Regions from separate parts of the Homo sapiens genome. Here regions 1, 2 and 4 are each linked to region 3. The links are contacts of gene promoters, found by promoter capture Hi-C in human tissues and cell types (Jung and others, 2019). All regions are on one chromosome and are shown on one strand. The core of a region is centred on a gene start or on the middle of the fragment in contact, and the rest is flanking DNA. Distances in the headings are between cores, read along the strand shown. Region 1 has its middle 3.8 kb from the start of OR1N2. Region 2 has its middle 7.3 kb from the start of OR1Q1. Region 3 holds the start of OR1K1 (olfactory receptor family 1 subfamily K member 1). Region 4 overlaps OR1B1 (olfactory receptor family 1 subfamily B member 1).

Region 1 (2,920 bases), core at 168-2,667, 240 kb before region 3:
TGTGAATAATATCTCTCCTCTTTGGGAACTAATTTCTGACCTCTAAGATCCCCACCTTTGCCCTCCAGTCACCCAGCTACACCATGCCATTTACAGTCTATTTATATATAAAGATATCTACCTCAAGGAATTGGCTCATGCAGTTGTAGAGGGTAGCAAGTTTGAAATTTGTAGGGCAGGCTGGAAACTCAGGCAGGCATGAACATTGCAATCTTTTTTAAATATATAGACTTTACTCTTTTAGAGCTGTTTTTGGTTTATAGAAAAATTGAGCAGAAAGTTCCCATATACTTTATGCCCCAACACACGCACAATCTCCCGAACTAATCCTCACCAGAGTGGTACATTTATTACAATCCATTAGCCTCCACTGACACATCATCACCCAAAGTCTATAGTTTACATTGGAGTTCATTCTTGGTGTTGTGCATTCTGTGGGTTTTGACAAATGCTTAATAGCATGTATTCATCATTATAGTATCATACAGAATAGTTTCACTGCCCTACAAATCCTCTGTGCTTCATCTAGTTATTCCCCTCTCCCCATAACCCTGTGGTAACCACTGATCTTTTTACTGTCTCCATAGTTTTACCTTTTCCCAGAATGTTATGTAGTTGGAATCATACAGTATATTGCCTTTTCAGATTGGCTTCTTTCACTTAGAGTGTGTTTAAGATTTCTCCATGTCTTTTCATAGCTTGATAGTTCATTTCTTTCTGAGACTGAGTAATATTTCATTGTATGCAATATTCAGGGAAAGGTGTAATGTCTGTGTCTAGATTCTTTTTTTTTTTTCATGTGGATGTCTAGTTGTTTCAGCACTATTTGTTGAAGAGACTGTTTTCTCCATTGCATTGTCTTTCATCCTTTGTCAAAAATCAGTTGACTCTACTTATGTGGGTCTATTTCTGGGCTCTTTATTCTGTTATATTGATCTATTTTTCTGTTCTTTTGTCAATGCCACACTATCTTAATTACTGCAGGCTTACAGTAAGTAGTGTCCACCGGGGCCTGTTGGGGGTTAGGGGACAAGGGGAGGGAGAGCATTAGGACAAATAACTAATGCATGCGGGGCTTAAAGCCTAGATGACAGGTTGAAAGGTGCAGCAAACCACCATGGCACATGTATACCTATGTAACAAACCTACACATTCTGCACATGTATCCCAGAACTTAAATTTAAAAGAAAAAAAAAGTAAGTAGTGTCAGTCCTCCAAACTTGTTCTTCCATAATGTGTTAGCTATTCTGAGTCTTTTGCCTCTCTGCATTTTGTTGATATCCACAAAGTAACTTGCTGGGGTTTTGATTGAGGCTATGTTGAATCTATTAATCAAGTTGGGAAGAATGACACCATGATAACATTGAGTTTTCCTATACATGAACATGGAATATCTCTTCATTTATTTAGTTCTTATTTGATTTCTCCTATCAGTTCTGCAGTTTTTCTCATATTAATCTTGTATATAGATTTATATCTAACAAATTGGGGGCTGCTAGTGTAAATGGTGTTGTGTTTTTAATTTCAAATTCCATTTGTTCATTGCTGCTATGTAAGAGAGCAACTGGCTTTTGTATATTAACCCTGTATCCCGAAACCTTGCTATAATTCTTTTAGTTCCAGAAGAGATTTTTGGATATTTTGGATTTTCTGTAAAAATCATGTCATCTGAAAATAAAGACAGTTTTATTTATTCCTTCTGAATCTGTATACTTTTCATTTTCTTGTCTTATGCATTACTAGGACTTTCAGTATGATATTCAAAAGCAGTAATGAGGGGGGACATTTTTTTGCCTTGTTCCTGATCTTAGTGCAGAGCTTTTAGTTTCTCATCATTAAGTATGATATTAACTGTAGTTTTTAAAATAGATATCCTTTATCTCTCTATTCCTAGTTTTCTCAGAGTTTTTAATCATAAATGAGTGTTGGATTTTTGTGAAGTGCTTTTTCTGCATCTATTTATATTATTATGTAGTTGTTCTTTAGTCTATTGATGTGATCAACTAAATTAATTGATTTTTAAGTGTTAGAGTAGCCCTGCATTCCTGAGATAAATCCCACTTGGATATGGTGTATAATTCTTTTTGTACATTCTTGGATTCTATTTGCTAAGTACTTTATTAAGGATTTTTACATCCATATTCATGAGAGATATTGGTATGTAGTTTTCTTTTCTTGTAATTACCTTATCTACTTTTGGTATTAGAGTATTGCTGGCCTCATAGAATGAGCTAAAAGTTCTTTCTTACTCTATTTCCATCTTCTAGAAGAGATTGCAGAGAATTGGCATACATTCTTCCTTAAATGTTTGATACAATTCACCAGTGATCCCATCTAGGCCTGGTACTTTCTGTTTGGGAAAGTTATTAACTATTGAGTTAATTTCTTTAATAGAAATAGGCCTGTTAATGTTCATTTCTTCTTGTATGGGTTTTAGTGGATTGTGGCTTTCCAAGAATTGGTCCATTTCATTTAAGTTATCATGTTTGTGGGCACAGATTTGTTCATGGTATTCCTTTATTATCCTTTCAATGTTCATGGGATTTGTAGTGATTTTTTTATTCATTTCTGATATTAGTAACTTGTGTCTTCTTTCTTTTATTTTCCTTAGTTAGACTTATTAATGGTATATCAATTTTATTGATCTTTTCAAAGAACTAGCTTTTGGTTTTGTTGATTTTCTTTAATAATGTCCTATTGTCCTATTTTCAATTTCATTGATTTCTGTTTTAATTTTTATTGTTTTTTTCTTGTGCTTACTTTGGATTTAGTTTCCTAGTGGGGAAGCTTAGATTATTTATTTTGGATTTTGCTTTTTTTTTTTTTTTTTTTTTTTTTTTGCAAAAGAAGGTTAAATTCAACTGGTGTTTTATCTCTCACCTTTTGGATAGTTTGAGGGTATTTACTTCTCTGTAAACCA
Region 2 (2,700 bases), core at 56-2,555, 190 kb before region 3:
ATATGCATGAGACTGAACTAGAGTCAGAAAATGACTTGGTGAATATTGAAAGGCAGTGTAGCACAGTGGTTTAGAACTTAAGCTTTTGACTCAGACAAACTTCACTTCAATACCTGCTGCTGTAGACTTCAGCAATTGCATCGCCACCCTGAACTTCAGTTTCTACATTTTTAAATAAAGATATTCACAGTGCTGGTGCACAGGGCTATCACTTAAGTGAATTCAGAACCTGGCAATGGCTAGTGCTCAGCCAGTATTAGCTATGATTATTACTCCAACTTTTTTCATAGTGTCAGAACAAGGGCTGTGGATTGGATAAACTTAATGTCCAGTATTATCTATTTAAGAGATCCTGGTATATCCTCACTATGGCTTCTGTGGGAAAAAAGGAATTTCAAGTCCCAAATCAAGGTATTCTTTGAGCGGCACTAGAGACAAATTAAGGTGTGGCTTTGGGGGCAAATGAAGGATTTGACACCTTCTATTTAGATGTAAAATATATAAATCTCATAAATAAATATAATAAGGCAAGGAAGGGTTCAGGAGCTGGAATAGACCATCTAAAGTTTAGGTTTTTAAATCCAAGGGGCCAGGAGAAGCCAAACTGACTGGAGAAGCACCTGTGAGTGAGGAGCACCTCTGAGTGAGGAGCATCTGTGAGGAGCACCTGTGAGGACCACCTATCCTATGTGGAGCACCTGTGAGTGAGGAGCACCTATCCTATGAGTGAGGAGCACCTATCCTATGAGTGAGAAGCACCTCTGAGTAAGGATCATCTGTGAGTGAGGAGCACCTATGAGTGAGGAGCATCTATGAGTGAGGAGCACCTGCAAGAAGCACCTGTGAGTGAGGAGCACCTATCTTATGAGTGAGGAGTACCTGCGAGTGAGGTATATCAGAGGTGTTAGGGAAAGCATGTGTCATTCCCAGGCATGCTTGGGGATACTGGAGCAGAATTCAATGCATTTCCTGTAGCTTTTCTTAGGGAAAGCCAAAATATTACTCTAAGTAAAGTGACTATGATGAAAAAGTCTTGCTCCATAACTTCAATTTTTTTTCTTTGCACAAAGTCAAATGATTTGATTTTTGTTCTACTTACTTGCCAGAGCTGCTTTTTAGAGATGACACCCTGGTTAACTTGTCAGAATTCTGGGTCTCTCAAAATCTCCATATTGGCTTCTGGACCACCATTTAAATTAGTTCAACCCATCACATCCATCACACTTAAAAATAATCTTTTACTTTCAAAAATAACACATGCTAGTAAAAGAAATGGTGTGTGTCATACAGAAGTTGACACCCACCATTCTTCCCCCCACACTCACTCCCTAGAAGCAAACATTATCCATCTTTTGAGTGTGTTCTTCTAGATTGTGTTCTTATTCATACACAAATATTTCTGTTTCATTTTTACTTAACTGTAACTATGCGTATACACACTGTTCTGGTATTTTACATTTTTTACTTAATTATATTATTACTAAGAGAAAAGTACTTGTGTAAACAGATAGGACATGTACAATCCAAGGCACACTTTTACTGGTGGCTGATATGTATCATATGGACAGCTGAAATAGTTCAAAGGAGCCTTAGATATCTTATCAAATACTGACACCAATCGATAACTTGACAAATGGTCTGACCCAAACTTTTTAACATGCACAATAATAAATCCAAGCTTTCTCAAAACAGAATTATTTAACCACAGAATTTTTTCAAACAGGAGTTTGAAGTACTTTTAACACAGCATTATTTTACTCTTTTGCTACTTATAACAAAATGTATTTCACACAGAATTTGAGACATGGACAGAAGAAACCAGACCTGCATCTATGAATTTCTTCTCATGGGCTTCTCTGAACACCAGGAGCAGCAGGCTCTTTTGTTTGGGCTTTTCCTGGTCATGTACTTGGTCACTGTGTTGGAGAACCTGCTAATCATCCTGGCCATTGGCTCTGACCTGCACCTCCACACCCCCCATGTACCTCTTCCTGTCCAACCTGTCCTTTTTGGATATTGGCTTTATCTCTACAATAATTCCCAATATGCTAGATCATATTAGCTCAGGAATTAAGCTGATTTCTTATGGGGAGTGTCTGACACAACTCTATTTCTCTGGCCTATTTGCAGATCTGGACAACAACTTTCTCCTGGCTGTGATGGCCCTTGACCGCTATGTGGCCATCAGCCATCCTCTCCATTATGCCCTAACCATGAACTCCCAACGCTGTGTCCTGTTGGTGGCTGTGTCATGGGTGATCACTATTTTACATGCCCTAGTGCATACCCTCCTAGTGACCAGGCTTTCCTTCTGTGGTCCAAATATTATCCCTCACTTCTTCTGTGATCTGGTCCCACTCCTGAAGCTGGCCTGCTCCAGTACTTGTGTCAATGATCTGGTGCTCATCCTTGTGGCAGGAACACTGCTGATTGCGCCCTTTGTCTGCATCCTTATGTCCTACTTTTACATTGCATTGGCCATCCTGAGAATTGATTCCCCAAGGGGTAAGCAAAGGGCCTTCTCCAGCTGCACTTCCCACCTCTCTGTAGTCTCTCTGTTCTATAGCACAGCTATCGGTGTCTATTTATGTCCTCCATCATCCCACTCAGATGGAAAGGACAGAGTCTTCTCAGTCATGTACACGGTGGTGACTCCCATGTTGAACCCCTTCATCTACAGCCTGAGGAACAGGGATATGA
Region 3 (2,700 bases), core at 168-2,667:
GGGAAAGTTTTCAGGGATATGAGGAGTCATTCAGATTCTCTTGTTCTTTTTTTGTGTGTGTGTGAGATGGAGTCTCACTGTGCCACCCAGGCTGGAGTGCAGTGGCACGATCTTGGCTCACTGCAACCTCTGCCTCCTGGGTTCAAGATATTCTCCTGCCCCAGCCTCCCAAGTAGCTGGGATTACAGGCACGTGACACCACACCTGGCTAATTTTTGTATTTTTTTTTTTAGTAGAGATGGGGTTTCACCACATTGGCCAGGCTGGTCTCAAACTCCTGACCTCAGGTGATCCTCCTACCTTGGCCTCCCAAAGTGCTGGGATTACAGGCACGAGCCACTGCACCCGGCCTTGTTTTGTGTTTTAAGTCTGAAAATATCTGTATTCTTTACTCACACTTGAGTAGTATTTTTGCTGAGTGAAGAATTCCAAGTTCGAAATGCTTTTTTTCAGAATTTGAATATTGTTAAACTGTTCTATAATCTACTGTTGAATTGAAACATTTGATGGCAATCTAATTACATGGATATCATCAGTTCATTGCACCCCATGCCCTTAGGAAGTACTGGAGTCTCCTCTTCATTTCCAGTGTTCTAAAATTCCACTATTTGTGTCTAGGTGTTGTGAGTTCATATTCATTTCAATGTAAACATATGTGCTCTTCAGATTTTTTTTCTAGAGTTTCTTTCTTATGTTTCTCTCCTCCATCTTGGTTTGGTTTCATTTTTTCTTTTCCAAAATAAATGTCCATTGGCCAGATCTTTCTGTGTCGAACCTCACTCTGTTTCATCTTTTCTTTCATATTTTCCTCCTTCCCTGATCTACATCTTGTGCAATATCTTTTGTTCTATTTTTGCTTAAATCACAAACTATCAAAGTTGGACGTGACCTTGCAGATGAGTTACTTCAATTCTCTTATTTCGCAGGTTGAAAGTCTAAGGCCCCACAAGGTCAGGAGATCGAGAACATCCTGGCTAACACGGTGAAACCCCGTCTCTACTAAAAAATACAAAAAAAATTAGCCGGGCGTGATGGCGGGCGCCTGTAGTCCCAGCTACTCGGGAGGCTGAGGCAGGAGAATGGCGTGAACCCAGGAGGTGGAGCTTGCAGTGAGCTGAGATCGTGCCACTGCACTCCAGCCTGGGCGACAGAGCAAGACTCCATCTCAAAAAAAAAAAAAAAAAAAGAAAAGAAAATCTAAGGCCCAGAAAGGAAGAAGGTTCAGGGAGGTGAAATGACTTGCCCATAGTCATACCTGTGCCTAGGGCCAGGGCTACCTGACTCTAAACTCTTGATATTTTCCCATGGCCAGGAAGCCTTGAACAATTTATCCCCTCACCTTTTCCGTTAGACATCGGGGAGGTGACCCATCAATAGAAAGGAGCCCTTCAGGTTCCAGGCGAATAACCAGCCTGCCATGGAGGCTGCCAATGAGTCTTCAGAGGGAATCTCATTCGTTTTATTGGGACTGACAACAAGTCCTGGACAGCAGCGGCCTCTCTTTGTGCTGTTCTTGCTCTTGTATGTGGCCAGCCTCCTGGGTAATGGACTCATTGTGGCTGCCATCCAGGCCAGTCCAGCCCTTCATGCACCCATGTACTTCCTGCTGGCCCACCTGTCCTTTGCTGACCTCTGCTTCGCCTCCGTCACTGTGCCCAAGATGTTGGCCAACTTGTTGGCCCATGACCACTCCATCTCGCTGGCTGGCTGCCTGACCCAAATGTACTTCTTCTTTGCCCTGGGGGTAACTGATAGCTGTCTTCTGGCGGCCATGGCCTATGACTGCTACGTGGCCATCCGGCACCCCCTCCCCTATGCCACGAGGATGTCCCGGGCCATGTGCGCAGCCCTGGTGGGAATGGCATGGCTGGTGTCCCACGTCCACTCCCTCCTGTATATCCTGCTCATGGCTCGCTTGTCCTTCTGTGCTTCCCACCAAGTGCCCCACTTCTTCTGTGACCACCAGCCTCTCTTAAGGCTCTCGTGCTCTGACACCCACCACATCCAGCTGCTCATCTTCACCGAGGGCGCCGCAGTGGTGGTCACTCCCTTCCTGCTCATCCTCGCCTCCTATGGGGCCATCGCAGCTGCCGTGCTCCAGCTGCCCTCAGCCTCTGGGAGGCTCCGGGCTGTGTCCACCTGTGGCTCCCACCTGGCTGTGGTGAGCCTCTTCTATGGGACAGTCATTGCAGTCTACTTCCAGGCCACATCCCGACGCGAGGCAGAGTGGGGCCGTGTGGCCACTGTCATGTACACTGTAGTCACCCCCATGCTGAACCCCATCATCTACAGCCTCTGGAATCGCGATGTACAGGGGGCACTCCGAGCCCTTCTCATTGGGCGAAGGATCTCAGCTAGTGACTCCTGAGGGCAGGACCCCACTGAGGACAGACTGCATCACCCACACTGGCAACTGTTGAACGTGACCCTCTGTCCTCTGCTATGCTCAAAAATCATAACAGCTGTCATTTCCTGAGCACCTGCCCGGAAGCAGATCCTTGCCTGATCTCATTTTATTCCCACAGCCACCCAGGATGCAGATATTATGATCCGGTTTTACACACAAGAAAATTTGTCTTTAGGCTCAAAGATAAGAAGTGACTTTCCAGCCAGGCACAGCGGCTCACGCCTGTAATCCCAGCACTTTGAGAAGCCGAGGTGGTGGATCACCTGAGGTCGAGAGTTCAAGATCAGCCTGGC
Region 4 (2,700 bases), core at 52-2,551, 160 kb before region 3:
GTTACCATGTGTGTATACACACACATATACACATATGAACCCATGTAGATACACACATGCATGCACGCATACATACACATATATACTGGCCAGGAGCAGTGGCTCACGCCTGTAATCCCAACAATTTGGGAGGCCAAGGCGGGTGGATCACCTGAGGTCAGGAGTTCAAGACCCACCTGGGCAACACGGTGAAACCCAGTCTCTACCAAAAATACAAAAAATTAGCCGAGCCTGGTGGCAGGTGCCTGTAATCCCAGCTACTTGGGAGGCTGAGGCAGGAGAAATGCTTGAACCCAGAAGGCAGAGGTTGCAGTGATCCAAGATCATGCCATTGCACTCCAGCCTGGGCAACAAGAATGAAACTCTGTCTCAAAAATAAATAAATAAATAAATAAACAAACAAACACACACATGTACATTCATCACTGACTTCCTAATACCTAACACAGAGCTGGGGAATGAGTGGGTGCTCGTTAAACATTTGTTAACCAAACAAAAAAGATTTTCTACTAAAGGGCAGTGGTCTAGAAGTTAATACAAAGGTTTCGGAGTCAGACTTACCTGGAGTTTCACTCCATATCTGCCATTTATTAACTATGTGATCTTAAGCAAGTTATGCTTTCTCATCTGTCAAATAGTGACAAAATTTCTCATAAGGTAGAGAAGATTAAAGGAGAACATATTCCGTTAAGAGAGTATTTTTGGAAGAAAATGAACTTTGCAGAGGTAAAGTAGGAAGTAACTTTTTTCACACGACTGCTTTTTGAAAAGTCTCATTTTTAGGTACTAAAATTCCAACACATTAGAATATAAAAATTTTAATTCTCAAGCAATTTAAACTGTGCTTTCTTCCCCAGCAGGGTTTATATTTTCATCCAGAAACCTGCATTAGGGAAAGAGGGATGCGACTGTCTTCATCTTTGCACCATCTTATCCATCCTTTTCTGTCTCTGGCTATTGCAGTGTTGATTTGAAGAAGGGAAACGGAAAGGTAAGGTCTCTTTGAAAGATAGAGCTGGTAGAAGTTACAAATACTGACTCTCTTCTCTTGCGGAACATCATATTGGCCCATTTGAGACCACCTATAGGTAACTATTACTGCATTCTTCCCAGATGAGACTAATTCAAACCCTGTCTGATCCCTTAGAGCCCCCTCCCTTACATTGGACATCTGACTGCACCCTTCTAAGCTTCTTCTAGGATTGCCTTACTCTAGCAAGAAATTCTCTTAGGTGGAATGATTTTCAAGATGACACAGCTCATGTACCATCCTTGGGTCCAAGGAAAGTTAGTCTAAGGAAAACTCATACATTTTTATCCCAACAAATTTGGTAAATGCAGTCTTCTCTTTCTCAATGCACTGGCAGAAGTTGCACTTGGCCCTTCCCTCAAGCTTTCTTTAAGGCCTTAAGTAATATTTTACACTGCATTCTTAGTTTGCAAACATTTTCTTAAACTATCTTTTTGTTACCAGTTTCTAATTTAATAGCATTCTGGCCAGAGAATTTAATCTCTGTGAGGTTACTTCTTTGAAGTTTTTTAAGATTCATTTTGTAGCCCAATATGTGGCTAAAAAATGGATATACAGATACAGAAATGGACAGTCCCAAAAACAAAATCACGATTTGTAGAAATTGTGGTATATAACAGTGATGGCATTCTTCAGTGATGAAGAATAGGTAATTCAGTTAAATATAGTGCTATAACTCTACATAAATATTTTAACTTGTGTTTCATTCACACTATACAGCATTTGAAATCAAAACAACATGCATGGAGTGTAAAACTCCAAGACATAATGTTAACTGGGAAAGGCCCGTTGCAAAATGATAGAAAAGTATAACAACAGATATAAAGTTGTAAAACATGCAAGAGAATTCTGTCATTTTTATAAAACATACATAGTGAAATTCTAGAAATATGCAGGAAAATAATGAATAGCTTATTTGGGATAGTAGTTTTCTTTAGGAAAAGAGGAAAGAGAAGCAGTTTGGGCTTTAATTGTATCTATAGCAGTCAATTTTTTCAAGGTAAGAACTGAAACAAAAAAGGGCAAATTTAAGTTTTGTTGAAGTTGGGTGTTTAGTATATGTAGTTCATTGTTTTGGTTCCTATGTATTTTTCTATACTGTGAAGCTTTTCCTATTAAAATATAAACAATAAAGCCAAGGGTAGCAATGGAGATATAAGACTTTTATTTTCTAGTGGTTTTTATTATTGATGCCTTCTAAGGTTAAGCATACCTTTCTAACTCAAAATAATATCCACATCACACATTCAGCACCAGGATACTCAAGCTAGTACATTATGGAGAACCCAGAATTAGGTAATATCTATCCGAGAACTAAGATAATCAGAGATTTATCTCCAAAACAATTTGCCAAGACCTTATGGAAAAAGAAAAGGTCACAATACTTGTGAATTATAATCATCAGGCCTGTGCATTGAGCCATGAAGTTCCCCTAGATGGTCTTTCCCTGACCCCAGGCAGGACCCATGTTTCCAATTATCATTTCTGGTTCTCTGTCTCACTATAGCAAGTTCTACAGTGAGCTTCTCATAGCAGCTTTTAGTTTGTGCTGATTGAAGGGATCTAGAGCAGGAGAAAAGTTTACACAGAGCTCCGGAATAGAAGGGAGAAATCTTCAGCAAGACTGAGAGATGGAAGGCTCATAACGGACTATATTTCCCCAGCCTCAG

Evidence for each region. Contacts are between HindIII fragments. The study calls those that stand out against the background at their distance.
Region 1: a fragment that was not itself captured here is called in contact with the fragment with the promoter of OR1K1 in region 3 in 4 of the 25 tissues and cell types used here (H1 embryonic stem cells, IMR-90 fibroblasts, mesendoderm cells and 1 more).
Region 2: a fragment that was not itself captured here is called in contact with the fragment with the promoter of OR1K1 in region 3 in 2 of the 25 tissues and cell types used here (mesendoderm cells and stomach).
Region 4: a fragment that was not itself captured here is called in contact with the fragment with the promoter of OR1K1 in region 3 in 3 of the 25 tissues and cell types used here (H1 embryonic stem cells, IMR-90 fibroblasts and aorta).

What each region holds. Positions count from the first base shown.
Region 1 is chr9:122,555,499-122,558,418 of GRCh38, forward strand. It overlaps a transcript of OR1J2 not described here and a transcript of OR1L8 not described here. Among named protein-coding and RNA genes, the nearest start is that of OR1N2, 3.8 kb to the left of the region's middle. The HindIII fragment of the contact is 5,041 bases long and covers 1-2,920 here.
Region 2 is chr9:122,606,060-122,608,759 of GRCh38, forward strand. It overlaps the pseudogene OR1H1P. Among named protein-coding and RNA genes, the nearest start is that of OR1Q1, 7.3 kb to the right of the region's middle. The HindIII fragment of the contact is 3,849 bases long and covers 1-2,700 here.
Region 3 is chr9:122,798,706-122,801,405 of GRCh38, forward strand. OR1K1 (olfactory receptor family 1 subfamily K member 1) reads left to right here and starts at 1,418. Exons shown (of 1, transcript NM_080859.1): 1 at 1,418-2,368. The coding sequence starts at 1,418. The coding sequence ends at 2,368. The HindIII fragment of the contact is 19,122 bases long and covers 1-2,700 here.
Region 4 is chr9:122,636,246-122,638,945 of GRCh38, forward strand. All of the region lies in intron 1 of OR1B1 (olfactory receptor family 1 subfamily B member 1), which reads right to left. It overlaps LOC124902265 (a long non-coding RNA gene), which reads left to right. Exons shown (of 3, transcript XR_007061759.1): 2 at 858-991. Among named protein-coding and RNA genes, the nearest start is that of OR1B1, 20 kb to the right of the region's middle. The HindIII fragment of the contact is 3,189 bases long and covers 1-2,700 here.